Linked DNA regions of Homo sapiens: region 2 is linked to region 1. The links are contacts of gene promoters, found by promoter capture Hi-C in human tissues and cell types (Jung and others, 2019). All regions are on one chromosome and are shown on one strand. Each heading gives the region's core, a stretch centred on a gene start or on the middle of the fragment in contact. The rest is flanking DNA. Distances are from core to core; before and after follow the strand shown. Region 1 holds the start of ADRA1A (adrenoceptor alpha 1A). Region 2 overlaps ADRA1A (adrenoceptor alpha 1A).

Region 1 (6,522 bases), core at 1,240-3,739:
TGACTGAGTGCAGGTGTCGGTGACAGGCTACGGAGAGGATCACTAGGATGTTACCCAGCACCCCGAAAAGAATGAGGCCCCCCAAGATCACCCCGAGCAGAATGGCCTTGGAAATGTTCACCGGTGCCGGCGGTTGGGTGCAGTTGGAGCTGTCGGAAGCATTTCCCGAGAGAAACACCATGGTCCCAGCCGGGGCCGGGCGAGGTCCGGCTGTCCAGGGCCACCTCCCGGGCTGGCGCGGAGGCGGGAGCGCGGGAGCCGGGAATCAAAAGGTCTCGGCTGGAGGGAGCCCTGCCAGGTGGGTTTGGCTGGGGGTGAGAGCGCGCGCGCGGGTGGGAAACAACCCTGGCCAGCCCTGGGAACCCTCAGAAGGCCACATGAAGGGGCAGGGCATTAAAGACATGGCCAGGGGCGCGCGGGGCTGCCGGGGACCCTCTCCACCTGCCGGGCTGGCCTAGCCCGGGACCCGGACTCCCTCCCTACCCGAAGCTGGGTGCGAAGATCCAGGAGACTCCTTGCAACATGCAATTCCAGAATTACGAGAATCTGCTTTTCCGCGCTGTCTTATTCGTCCTGGCTGGGGGAAGATTCAGCATTCTGCACATGATTCGGAATTCAAAACTCCAGCGCCAGTCTCTCCCTCAAACCAAAAGATCAGCCGTCGACGCTCAAAGGCAGGGACCGATGGTTGGGTAGCGCAGCGCTACAGGTTGGGCGCTGCTCCTGGCCCGCAGTTACCTACATTTTGAGCTGCCCCACCGAAGGCTCCTGCTCTCTCCAGCTTCTAGGAGCACAGGTCAGGGGACGTAGGTGTGGAATATGTGCTGAGACCCAGGAGGCTGCGGGGCATCGTTTGACCGCGTCCACCTGAAAGAGCGCAAAGAGAAAGGCGGCTTTGAGCTAGGCGCCCCAGGGAAAGAGGCTGTGCTGAGCTTGACGGGTTGGGGGACACCAGTTGGGAGCCGGGTTGGTTCTGCGGTCCAGAAGCTGCTTCGCCCGGCAGCGGTGGAGGCGACTTCGGAGCTCATCTCGCGCCCCCACCACTGGGAACCTGCCTAGCGCACTCTACTGAGTCACCTCTGCCCGAGTTCAGGATCCGAAGCGAAAAACAAACAAAAAAACAAATCCCCAAAACCCCAGGCTCCAGCGCTCGAAGTCTGGATTTCGAGCGCAGGTACCACGAAATTAAAATCCTCGAAGCCCCGGAGGGGCGACTGCGGCTGGCGAGTGTGTCGCACGGATCCTAGCCGGGGAATTCTGGAGGATGTACTCGGTTTCCGTTAGAACAGGTTGCCTCGCAGTCACCTGGAGGGGGCGGCCTGGGAGAGGGAACAGCTGCGACCCAGGGACCTCAGGGCCAGGACCACGAGCACGCTCACTCTCACGCCGGTGGAATTCGCACTCGGGTGTGCAGAGCGCACCGGTCTGTCCACCAGCCAAGCTGGCTTGAGAGCCAGGTCCCGAGCGAAGCCGGGAGGGACCCGAAGACAGAAAGCGACCCAGGTCTGTCCACGACGCCTTTCCAAGCCTCACTGTTGGCCACCCGAGGGGCTCCAGCTGCCAGCCGTAGCGGGACTGGCGGGGGACGGGGTGGGGAGGACGTCCCTCTGCAGAGGGAGCTTTGCAAGTGACAGTCACTGCGGATTTTGCAGGCGTAAACATTAAGCCGGCATGCCAGCGGGCAGGGGCCGCCTTCGATTTTCTGGGCTGGGGGCCACCATCTGCGTAAGAAACCTGGGTTTCCACAACTGCGAACCTACCGCAGGGACTCGGCAGGACAGCGCGGCGTGAGGAAGTGCCCACCTTGCCTTCTGGGGTTGGGCCCTGAGGTGGGACCTCGGGCAAAGACTCTTGTTAAAATCGCAAGTTGGAGACCTCACAGGTGGTATTAAAAACGTGCCACTGCAGAAACCCTTTTCCTCCTACCTCGAGGGTGATAAACACAGGGTTAAAAAGACACTTGTTCAGTAGAAGGCAACTTCGCAGAAGATGTAAGGGAATCGGGGGTGGGGTAGAGGGGCCGGTATAAAACCTGGTGGAAAAAGCGGGAGGCGCTGGGAAAAGTGGGGGTTCCGTCTCACCAGACGGCGGGGGAGGTCTGCCCTCACCCACTCGGCCCTGCGGGACGCCGGCCCCGGCGCACTCACCTGAAGCGCCGCTGCTGAGCCACCAGCTCGCGCGCGGGGGATGTGGACCCGGCTTCGGTCCCGGGAGCTGCCTGCCTGCTCTTCTCTGGAGGCGGAGAGGGGACCGTGTCTCCGAGGCACCAAATCCTTGTCCTTTTGCACCCGCTGACTCACCCCTCCACCACTGATGTCTTTAAGCTCCTGAACCGCTGTCACTTTACCTGCATTTTTTAAAAAGAGTCAAAATAAGAAAAGAAAAAAAAATGCAGATAACCGGTAACTCCACAATCACCCTTTTAATATTCAGCTCCCCGACACCAGAAAAGAATAGCAAGGAACTTTGCAGCTCTCGCTGACGTAACTCAGGCAGTAGCCCAGCTAGTACCGTAATCTCCTGCTGCTACCGTATTACTCTACGGCAACAGGCACAAGTGCGTATACAGCTGTAATGTTTTCCTCTGGCCTAGAGGGGGTTGGGTTCTAGCGTTTCTTTAAAAAGGTTTGTGTGTGTGTGTGTGTGTGTGTGCGCGCGCGCGCGCGCGTGTGTGTGTGTAGAGTCATTTGTAGTAAATAACTTCTTTAAATGAGCTTTTAAAAATAACGAAAAATTGACACCCTTGCTAGATATTGCTGTGTGTATGGTGTGTTCATAGGAATGTGCTATAAAGTAACTTTGAACAGCTTGATTTGATTAACATTTGGCCTAGGTTTTGTTAAGATCAAGAAGTATATTAAGAATATTGTAATTCTAAATATGCAAGTAAATTATAAGGTGTTTTAAATAGCAAGTAAAATCAGATAAAATATGACAAATCTGATTGTAATGAAATTATATTTTCAGGAAGATAAAGTGGACATATCTAAACCTTATTTAATATGATTCACTTCTAATTTCTTTAGACAGATGAATTTTAAGAGCATTATGGCCACAGAGTTTGGTATTTTTTAAATGCCACACAATCTTTTCCAGTTTTCTTGAGAAAATGGTATCCTTTCAGGAGTGTTACTCTCTTTAATTCATTAATAGCTGGAGTATGAAAACCTAGCACCACCAGTCTTATTACTTTTTTTCTGGTAAATTACATAATCTGTTTACCTTGTGATTGAATAAAGTCACATGTGTTTCAGAATATCGGGAACATAGAAAAATGTTTCCCACTCCAATTCCCACCTCCTAAGTCATCTTTCATCTTTATTGATGCAGACAAAGTGGAATGTTCTTATTTACTAGGTCTCCTTAAACCTAGGAACAAGGAGATAACTTTAAGCAGTGGCACTTAAATTCTCTCCTGTGAACAAAATCATATTAATATGATTACCTTTTCTAAGTGAGATAATGTTTGGGAGGCTCTTTTATAGCAATAAATCTCAAAATGCCTCAGAGGAATGCCCATGAGAGGGTCAGTAAATCCTATGTCATGGAAGACCTAATATATGTATTTATTTCTCTATTGTATACAAAGTCCTCCACCTCTGCCTCATACCTGTAGGGATAGAACTCACACCTAACACATTTGATTTGAATTTAATATATTTTTAAAACTGAATTTCGTGCCATAGGAGGAGCATCCTGGTTGAACAGACAGCTCCACTTCTCATTACTAAGTCACCTGCTCTCTCTGGGATTCAGTCCCCTTAGGAGGAAGCTTGACCTCAATTCCCTGCACTTCTAGTACTTTATCATCAAATATGTGTATAATGTCTGTGCTTCCGAAATCCCATCCATCAGAGGGATATACACTGTTTTGTTTTGTATTCATTAACCTGATGCTGTGAATGCAAATTCTTCATTAAGATGTGTTCCATGGTAGATAAGGGAAGCAGTGCTATCAGCAAGCAAAGCAACTGAAAATTGCTCAGCTCTGCAAGGTCGAAAATTGCAAAAGTCTTTGTAACTCCCAGTCCCCACTCTACAACAATTAAGAATACACATAATCCACCCCTGCACCCACCTCCAATAATTAACTAGTTAATACTAAGATAAGGAAGAGCAGCTCTTCATGCTGCTAGCAGGTAGGTCTTTCAAATCTGCTTCTCAGCCTGTGACCATCAATCCTTGCAAAACGACCTCTCAGAACCAATTTTTCAGTCACCTACCATTGATTCACAAACAGAAAACTATCCATCTGTTGGTTACTCTTTAAAGAATAGTTGACGTGGACATCCCAGAAAGTGTCTGAGTTGTACACATGGGTAGGTGGAGTGGAGAGGAGTATGCTCTGGGGTCATAAAGATGCTATTCTGACCCTCCTATGCGACCATGGCAAAGCCTTGGTTTCCTAATTTTTAAAGGGAGACAATGAACCCCCACAAGGTTGTTATTAGTGTTGAAAGAAATTACGTTTCTCAAAAACTCAGCTCATAATATTCACTAACTCTATTATTAATCTTATTAACTCCCTTTCTGCTCATTTTGTATGCTACTTTATAGTGAAATATATTTCTAACCCAGGTAGTCCATGAACACTGGTAAATTCAGCTGGAGAATGTGCTAAGTGTCTTGAGCACTACACTTGAGCTAAGTGGTTTAATCAGAATGACCCAACATGGTTAAGTTGCAAGAGCTGGCCCTGATCACTGGCTGCTTCTTTTCTTCTCACTTTCCCCCTTGTTCTTTGTCTTGAGGGGCCATGCAAATGTGTGTGAACACCTCAGCCCCTACAGCCAGAAAGCTGCCTTCTTGGCCTCAGGCCTTGGGGTACACACATTTGTGATGTTGTCTGCCCAGAGAGAATGGACCTGAAAGTGATTGTGTGGCCATCTGGGGCAAGGGATTCTGAGTCCCAGGGCATGGTCTAGAAAGGAGGGCACAGGCTCCAGGTGGGCATATCACATTAGTCCTATGGCCAAAAGGAGTCAGAGCTGGACTCTCTAAAGCCTGAAACCCTAGCCGGGGTCCCTCTTGCCTGGCTCTGAGGGTGATACTCTGAAGACTTCCGGTGTGACAGAAATTGAAGAATCCCCTGAAGGGGTGGTTGTGGAAAGACTCATAAAATGATATTGCTTGATGTAGGATTTGTGGAATCAGCAGGATTGAGATTTGTAGACAAAAGTGAGGAAGGTGAACCATCAGCAGCCGCATTTTAGAGTGGTGTGTCAGGGATGCTGGGGGAATGAGTCTGATTGGAGAAGAGCTGAGCAATGGACATAAACCCATGCATTGATTGGCAGGACTTTCTTAGTGACTAGTGAGGAACTCGGCAAGTGTGGTAGGCTTAGAGGTTTAAAAAAATAAAGAATCTGTCTATCATTCCCTTAGAAAACAATACACAATGGAATTAGGAGCTGTGTTCTGGAATTTATGATTGCAAATGACAGAGTAGAAGACTTAATGTTAGTATCTACCCCAAAGACTTGGCTTTTCAACTAATTCTCCTAAGGCTTAATAAGTTAAAGAGGCAAGAAAATGAAAAACAATTCTCAGAAAGGTATTGATGCAGTATCAAGTCACAGCTCTCCAAAGAAGCATTGTGTTCTAATCCTTTATCGAACTGAGAACACTGCACAGCCCACAGATACTGCTGAGGGATGTCTTTGATGAGATAGTAATTCTGTCTTTGCCATCATTTTTCCAAATCTTCATTGCCCTGAGAAAATAACATACTCCAAGTCTTGGGAGTCATACCACCCCATCCCTACACTGTGGGACTATCATGGTAGGAATATGAGGTCAAGTCAGCCTATAGCTGATCAGCAAATAATTCCTTTAAAACAATAAGACTTTGCTCTCGCATAGCAAATCTAAGCTGAGGCATATTAATCAAATTTTTTCAATATCTTTGTCAATATCATCTGGAAATGGAAGTAAAAGAAAGTCAATATGTGTACCAAGTGCAGACACATTTTTATCTCATCTCTTCACTTGCTGATGGGCTGTTATAGGCACTTTAAAATGCTTATTGACTTGTATTTAATTATAAAATTTATGCTCATAATAGCACATTTGGAAAAGTCAGACAGAAATGTATGAAAATAAAAATTATCTGTAATCCTGCCACTGGAGAAATAGCTATTGTTAAATATTTGTCATATTTTCTCATTTTTTGTTAATGTGTATAAATTATATACATGGAAAAATATATATACACATGTACATACCAGGAAATATTTTATGTACATGTATTTATTATGCATACATATATATTTCACATATTATACATTGTATACATTATATAAAAGAGTGTAATCATACTGTACCTATAATTATATATCTTACTTTTTCACTTATATTATATCATGAACTCATTCTATTATTACATTTATACCAAAACATGGTTTATAAGAGCTCCACAGTGATTCTATTATATGTATATGCTATTGTCTGAATGTTTGTGTTCTCCCCAAAATTCATATGTTGTAGCCTAAATTCCGAGGTGATGGTATTAAGAGGTGGGGT
Region 2 (6,522 bases), core at 1,656-4,155, 94 kb before region 1:
GCTGCCTGATGAGTTGGGTCTACCACCCACCCCATTCCCAGCAGGTCCCCTCTTTGATTGGTCCTGTCTTGTCCTCCAAGAAGAGCTGGCCTTCCGAGAAGGAAGTGGGGTGGGTACCTAAGATTATTCCCCTTTCCTCTGCATCTTTCCTGTCCTAGACTTCCTCCCCGTTCTCACTGAGGGAGATGGTGTGGACCTTAATGGTTGGAACTTGATGGTTCTTGTCAAGGCTGGGGGTTGAGGGCCCTACACAGCAGCAGACCTGCAAAAAGCTTTTACTTCTCACCCGGGCTGTGGTACAGGAGGATTGGTCTTTGGACACTGTAATCCTGGCAGATCCACGGGGCATGGAAGAGAAAAATTTCCATTCACAAACGCCATCCGTCTTGGAGATCCTGTAGAAGGTCTCTCTTGATCCCACGGGGATGCGCACCATGTCCTTGTGTTGCCCTTCCACGGCCTGGCTGGGCGGGTGCAGGGTGTAGCCCAGGGCATGTTTGGAAGACTGCTTTCTGCAGAGACACTGGATTCTCAAGACATTCTGAAAGGCCTTTTTGAACTCTTGGCTGGAGCATGGGTATATGATGGGGTTGATGCAGCTGTTTAGATATCCGAGCCAAAATACTATTTTAAAAACTGTTTCAGAGGGCTTGAAATCAGGGAAGAAAGACCCTGGAAGAAAACACACAGATTTATACATATTATTTGAAAGCCAGCAAGCCAATTGGCTAGGAAAACAATCAAACAGACATCTTTCTGTATTTTTAAACGGTTAAAATGATCCCAAACACATATGAGTTTCTCACATTTGACTGACTAGCTCCTATGACTGTCACCCTTTTGCAATATCTTCAAAGACCATTCCTACTTGGTCCGCGTGTGTCATTAATTACAGGAGCAGGCCCAGTGGGTAGGGTTGCACTGGCTCTCAGTGACCAACAGCTGCTGTGAAGTTTTACCAAATGAAAATGTGAAACTCAGACTGAGTCCACATATGTAAATTGTTTTGCCTAAATTGAAAAGTAAGTTGGAATCCATGCAAGTAATCCATATTAAAATTCGGTTATCTGAACATGCCCTTTATTCTCTGATGCAGTGTTATGCAACAGACACAGCCTCAGTGTTTATGAATTCCTCCCCTCCCAAATGTTAGAATTATGGATTTTGATGAGAATCTCAACTTTACACAATATTGGCCTTGCCAAAGTTGGGCCAGTGATTCTCAATCACTTTTCCTAGATGATGTCTTTTGATGTCACCGTTAGCTCCCTTTGTCAATATCCCTCGATGTCTCCCAAATGTGTGTCTTTGCTTCACATTCGGAGTCCTCCACAGCCTCTGGTCTAACCAGCTTTCTAATATGACTAGTTGCTATTTTTTCTCTAGCCAGACTCACTACACTTTTTCTCCAGGTCATTGATCATTTTTTTTGTCCTCTCAAGTTGGGCCACTGTGTCCTTGATGCCCTTTTCCACCTTCTCTACCTACCCAAACCCTACCCGTTGATGTGCACGGCAGGAACCAGGCCTCAGGACCCGTCACATCCTGCGCAGAGACTGCCACAGGGCATTTCGCAGCAGAAGAACAAAACTGTGAAGTCTTAAAATGGAACAACCTTAAGGATTATCTCCTCCAATTACTCAATTTACAAATTTAAAAAATGCTTATTTAGCCTTTTCCCAGCTGCCGCCAAGATGCTCTGCCCTTCTGAGCTGAGGCTGCGTTGGGGTCAGGCCCTCACTGCATCCAGCACTAGCACTACTCCGGGCAGCCCAGCCTTGCACTTGTCCACACCACGGACTCCATCTCAGAGCTCGCCTGCACTGACTCAGCCCTCATTCTGTATAACGCTGAGGGGATCATCACATAGGATAAGGTCAATGTCGTTTCTAAAGCAGCTGGGGTAAATGATGACGGCTTTTGGCCTGGCTTGTCTGCCAAGGCCCTGGCCATCGTCAACTTCGGGAGCCTCCTCTGCAGTGGAGGGGCGGGGTGGGAAGACCTGCTCAGCAGCTGGTGGTGTACCTGCGGGAGGTCCTGCCCTTCTGTCACTGTGGCCTAGGCCGAGAAGAAGAAGGTGGAAGCAAAGAAAGAAGAATCTGGAGTCTGATGATAATATGGGCTTTTTTTTTTTTTTTTTGAGTAAACCTATTTTATAACACGTTCAATAAAAAGCTGAACTCTTAAAAATGCTTATTAAAGAGATTGTCACAAACCTCATAGCTACAATACTGATAAGAGTGATGGATAAAGGGTATGGGACTCCCAATCCAATGTTCTTTATTCTCTGATTCTCAGACTTCCAAGGGCTTTTGCTAAAGGAGCTTTATGAATTATGAAATCCCAAACGTCCCTCTTCACTCCTTTCAGAGAAATTGCAAAATAACATCTTGACTTTCCTTCCACCTCCTTTCTTTTCTTTCTTGGCTCCCAAGCTCCTTTTCCTTCTCCGCGGGCTTTTAGTCACAGCTTCGTGTACAGTTGGTAGAATGGCTTTGGGAAACTCCTATGATGCCTTTGGGCCTCCAGTTTTCTTATCTGAAAAAGGAGTATGTTGAATGGATGATTCCTAATGGCCCTGAACAATTTTTTTGTTGCTGTTGTTTCAAACCTAAGGTCTTGATTTTATGTCTTTCTTTTCCTCTCTGCTCTGTGGACCTATCAGAGCCGTGACAAATTGCTGGTGCTATTAAAATCCACTCTGGCAAACAGTGCTCTGAAATTAAGTCAAAAAGCTCATCAATATAAACAAAGAGTAAACTTAAATACTGAAGAACCCAAAGAAGACACAATAGTGTGGTTGTTGATGGGAGCATTTATTACCTCTGAAGCACACTCCCTGCTAAGTTCCATGTGTCTCAAATTCACACACACACACACACACACACAATGGGTGTTTATTTGGAAAACATGTAAAGTGAGAAAGTTTTATTCTTTAGCTCTAAAGCTTTTCATGTTGTCCTATAATTATAATAAAGTTTACAGTCTTTGAATGCCTGATTTGAAACAGGCAAGGCACTGTGCTGAACACTTTCCATATGATTTAATCATCGTTAGTAACATGAAGAGTTATGTGACTCTTCCCTATTTTACAAATGAAGAAACTGTGGCTTAATGAGTTTGAGTAGCTCAACCGAGGTCACTCACATAGTTACTGGTAGGTTTGAAATTAGGCAGTGTGATTGATTTCAGGGCCCATGCTCCTTTGTGGAATCTCCAAATATACTGCAATAATACATCTCTTAGGAGGATAGCTGATGGGGAGTGATAAAGTGTGCAGCTGGGGGAAGCTGAATTGGAAAAATGCTTTTTCGAACCTCATCTGTGATGGAAAAAATGGCTAATGCCAACATGACTGATGGTTTTGTGCAAATGCGGTCAGTTCCAGAAAAAAATTTGTCTTACATTATGAAACCTATATATTGTCCAATATTTCCTACTAATAGTGACAGTGATGTGATTAAGGAAACCCATTTCACAAAGACCTGCCTGGGCCTGTGCTTAATGACTACAAGAATGTCTGAGCTGAGCACACTGAAACCCACCTTGTCTGGGAATGTCACTACTCTGTAAATCAGCGAGGGAGGGGAGGGTCGTTTCCTTATTTGAAGAATTTCAATTTTTAAAAAAGAAAAAAAAATATGCACTATGAATGTGAATGCTAATAAATATGGTTTGAGAGTCTTGGAATTTCCCATAATTCCTTCAATTACACTCATTCTGCTTACAGAACCCAGTTTTGCACTCGTAAATCTCAACATTTCCTTTTAGTCACTTCCTTCCCATCCCTTCTTTCCTTGCGTGGCCCTGCTCTTAATTCCAGGTATGGCTGACCCAGAGCCAAGCTCTTGGGCCCTCTCTCTAGTCTCTTGCTGTGTTCCAGTCTTCACAGGTGAATCCTGGCCTCCCCCTCTCTGTACCCCACTCAAAACACTCATTTCTTCAACATGGCTCAGGTATAGGTATAGGGTGAGAAAGAGAGTTGATTAAAACTAATTTACACTAAGATCTGAATGTCAGATAATCTCTAGGCCTAACCCCAGGAATATTTTCTTTTTAATCCAAGCAAATCTCTAGATTTTGGCTTATGCTTCCAGACCAGAGACCTTCCTGTAAATGACAATGTTTGGTTTATCCTATTAAGTGTGTGACAGCAGCCAGATGTGTGTAAGCCTAGCACGGATTTGCATGCTCCCAAACTGATAGTTCCACCAGGGGCAGGTTGCAGGATCCATTCTCATGCTTGGAGTATTCTTCCCTTGTGATGGGGAACAGGTGCTGGGAGCCATGTGATTTTCTTTGAGCAGCTGCTGACTGGCTGGGGTTAGATGAGAGACTCATAGCTATGCTTCCTTCAAGAACTTTCCAAAGAGTGAGAAAAGACAGCAAAAGGGCTAGGCATGGTGGCTCACGCCTGTAATCACTGCACTTTGGGAGGCCAAGGTGGGCAGATCACTTGACACCAGGAGTTTGAGACCAGCCTGGGCAACATGGTGAAACCCCATCTTTACTAAAAATACAAAAATTAGCTGGGTGTGGTGGCATGTGCCTGTAGTTCCAGTTACTCAGGAGGCTGAGGTAGGAGGATTGCTTGAGCCCGGGAGGTAGAAGTTGTAGTGAGCTAATGCGCACCACTGCAGTCCAGCATGGGCAACGGGAGTGAACCCCTGTCTAAAAAAAAAAAAAAAGGACAGCAAAAGAACTGCTCCTCTCCTTATTGACATTATTCCCATCCACGTATTTCTTCCTTTATTTTTCCTCTCCTAGAAAGGAGAGATGGGGCTGGAATTGGGCTTGGAAAGCAGCTGCATGGCCCCAAACCCTCCTCCTGCTCTCTCTTTCTCTGCCCAAACCTTCCCCGTCTGGTTCTATTTTCTCTGAACTCTGCATTAGTTCTATCCTCAGCCTCCATTCTTCCCAAATCTCTTTCTTCCTGAGGACTGGCTATGTTTTTAGGGTGGGAAGACAGCTGGAGAATGCTTGTTCCTGGCCTCCAGCCATCAGGACCTAGAGGGTCAGGGCTGAACCAGCCTGGTTCAGGGGTGGGTGCCTCTGACCCAGTCACTCTGTGGGGAAGTCCATTCGAGCAGCCATCCGGCCGGCTTTGCTCACTCACGGAGCTCCAGAATCCAGTAAAATGCTAGAGTCTTGAAGGCATTCTCCTAGTTTTTGCTGCATGAATGGCCGACCTTCTGACAGACGGATGGACTGACTGACTGAATGAATGAATGGCTGTGTCTCTGTGTTCTTGCCATGGTTCTTCTTCACAGTGTGGCTTGGTTTTCTTTTCTGCGTGATGGCTGTAGCCTCATATTATCTCCCAACCCTGACTTCTTTCTGCTGTCTCATTCTTCTTTTTTTTGCCCACCATTTCAGTTCAGTCATTTGGTTTTTTTGTAATGTTATTTTACTACCATTTTTTCCTTGCTCTATCATCTGGCATCAGACCCTCTAGTTTTTCTCATGATGCTTCATAGGAAGAGCCAGACTTCCAAATCACCCACATGAGAATAGGGGCTCCTACTTCTTTGGTCACCGTAGCTATGGTTTTCTCCTCAACAATCTCTGCTTCAAGAAGAGCCAACAGCTCCTGACTTAATCCCCTGAACACCTTGCCCTGCAGCTCAAGCCATCCTTTGCATGTGAATTTGCCTGGTTTAATTCTTGGGCTTTGGAAAATCCCCACAGCCTAAGGATTCTTCCTGTCACTGAGTTTCTTTCCACCATTTGGTCTGCTGCAGAATTTCTGCCTCTTTCCTGACCCTCTGGACACCCTGACCAACTTACGCCGGTCAGACTGAGGTGGATAGAACAGGAGTTTATGGCCAAACACCATCAACATTCTCATTCATGGAGATTCAGAATCCTCACTTCCACTGTAAAGGCCTCTAGATGCCAAGAAGAAATTGAAACGAATAATTTAAAATGTTGCCTCTATGTCTTTCCACTGAATGCTATATCCATTGGGAAAATCTGACTTCATTTTTGAACTGGGGCTCATCTAATAGGCTTATGAGGGGGCACTAGGAGGCATCCCAGTAAAGGCTTGGCGACTAGAGTCACCTTTTACAGTTATAAAATTACAGCAACATTTGCCTCAATGGCTCCAATACAAGATAAAACCATTTTTTCCTGCCCATGCTGGTCTCCTCCATGAATTTGATACACCGGTGAGTGCTATGGTTAGCTTCAAAAGTTGGTGAGAGTAGGAACTGAGTTCTCGAATTCCTATCCAGCACTGGTCATTAGGGGGTTCCTCCTTAGTTCAACTGTTTCTCTCAGAATGAGGGTGACTTGATATGGAAGCTGAAAGCTGTGAGTCAGTCTTCTTGGTTCCAGCCTCCAGCTTCTGCGCTTCATTTTACCCCCTGGAAAACTTGACATCTTAATGACAACCTTGAGAGACACTGGGCTATGGTAAACCCTACTTAGCTGGAGTTGCATAAGGCTAAAATGTGAAGACTGGCAGGCACTTAGAGATCAGAGCTGTCAACCTGTCCTTTATATGTGAAGACAGCAAGG

The links. Contacts are between HindIII fragments. The study calls those that stand out against the background at their distance.
Region 2: a fragment that was not itself captured here is called in contact with the fragment with the promoter of ADRA1A in region 1 in 2 of the 25 tissues and cell types used here (aorta and bladder).

The regions. Positions count from the first base shown.
Region 1 is chr8:26,864,789-26,871,310 of GRCh38, forward strand. ADRA1A (adrenoceptor alpha 1A) reads right to left here and starts at 2,490. Exons shown (of 3, transcript NM_000680.4): 1 at 2,148-2,490; 2 at 1-867. The coding sequence starts at 181. RefSeq lists an enhancer at 760-1,711. The HindIII fragment of the contact is 8,811 bases long and covers 1-6,522 here.
Region 2 is chr8:26,769,995-26,776,516 of GRCh38, forward strand. ADRA1A (adrenoceptor alpha 1A) reads right to left here. Exons shown (of 3, transcript NM_000680.4): 3 at 1-672. The coding sequence ends at 155. It also overlaps the pseudogene RPLP1P9. Among named protein-coding and RNA genes, the nearest start is that of ADRA1A, 94 kb to the right of the region's middle. The HindIII fragment of the contact is 7,858 bases long and covers 1-6,522 here.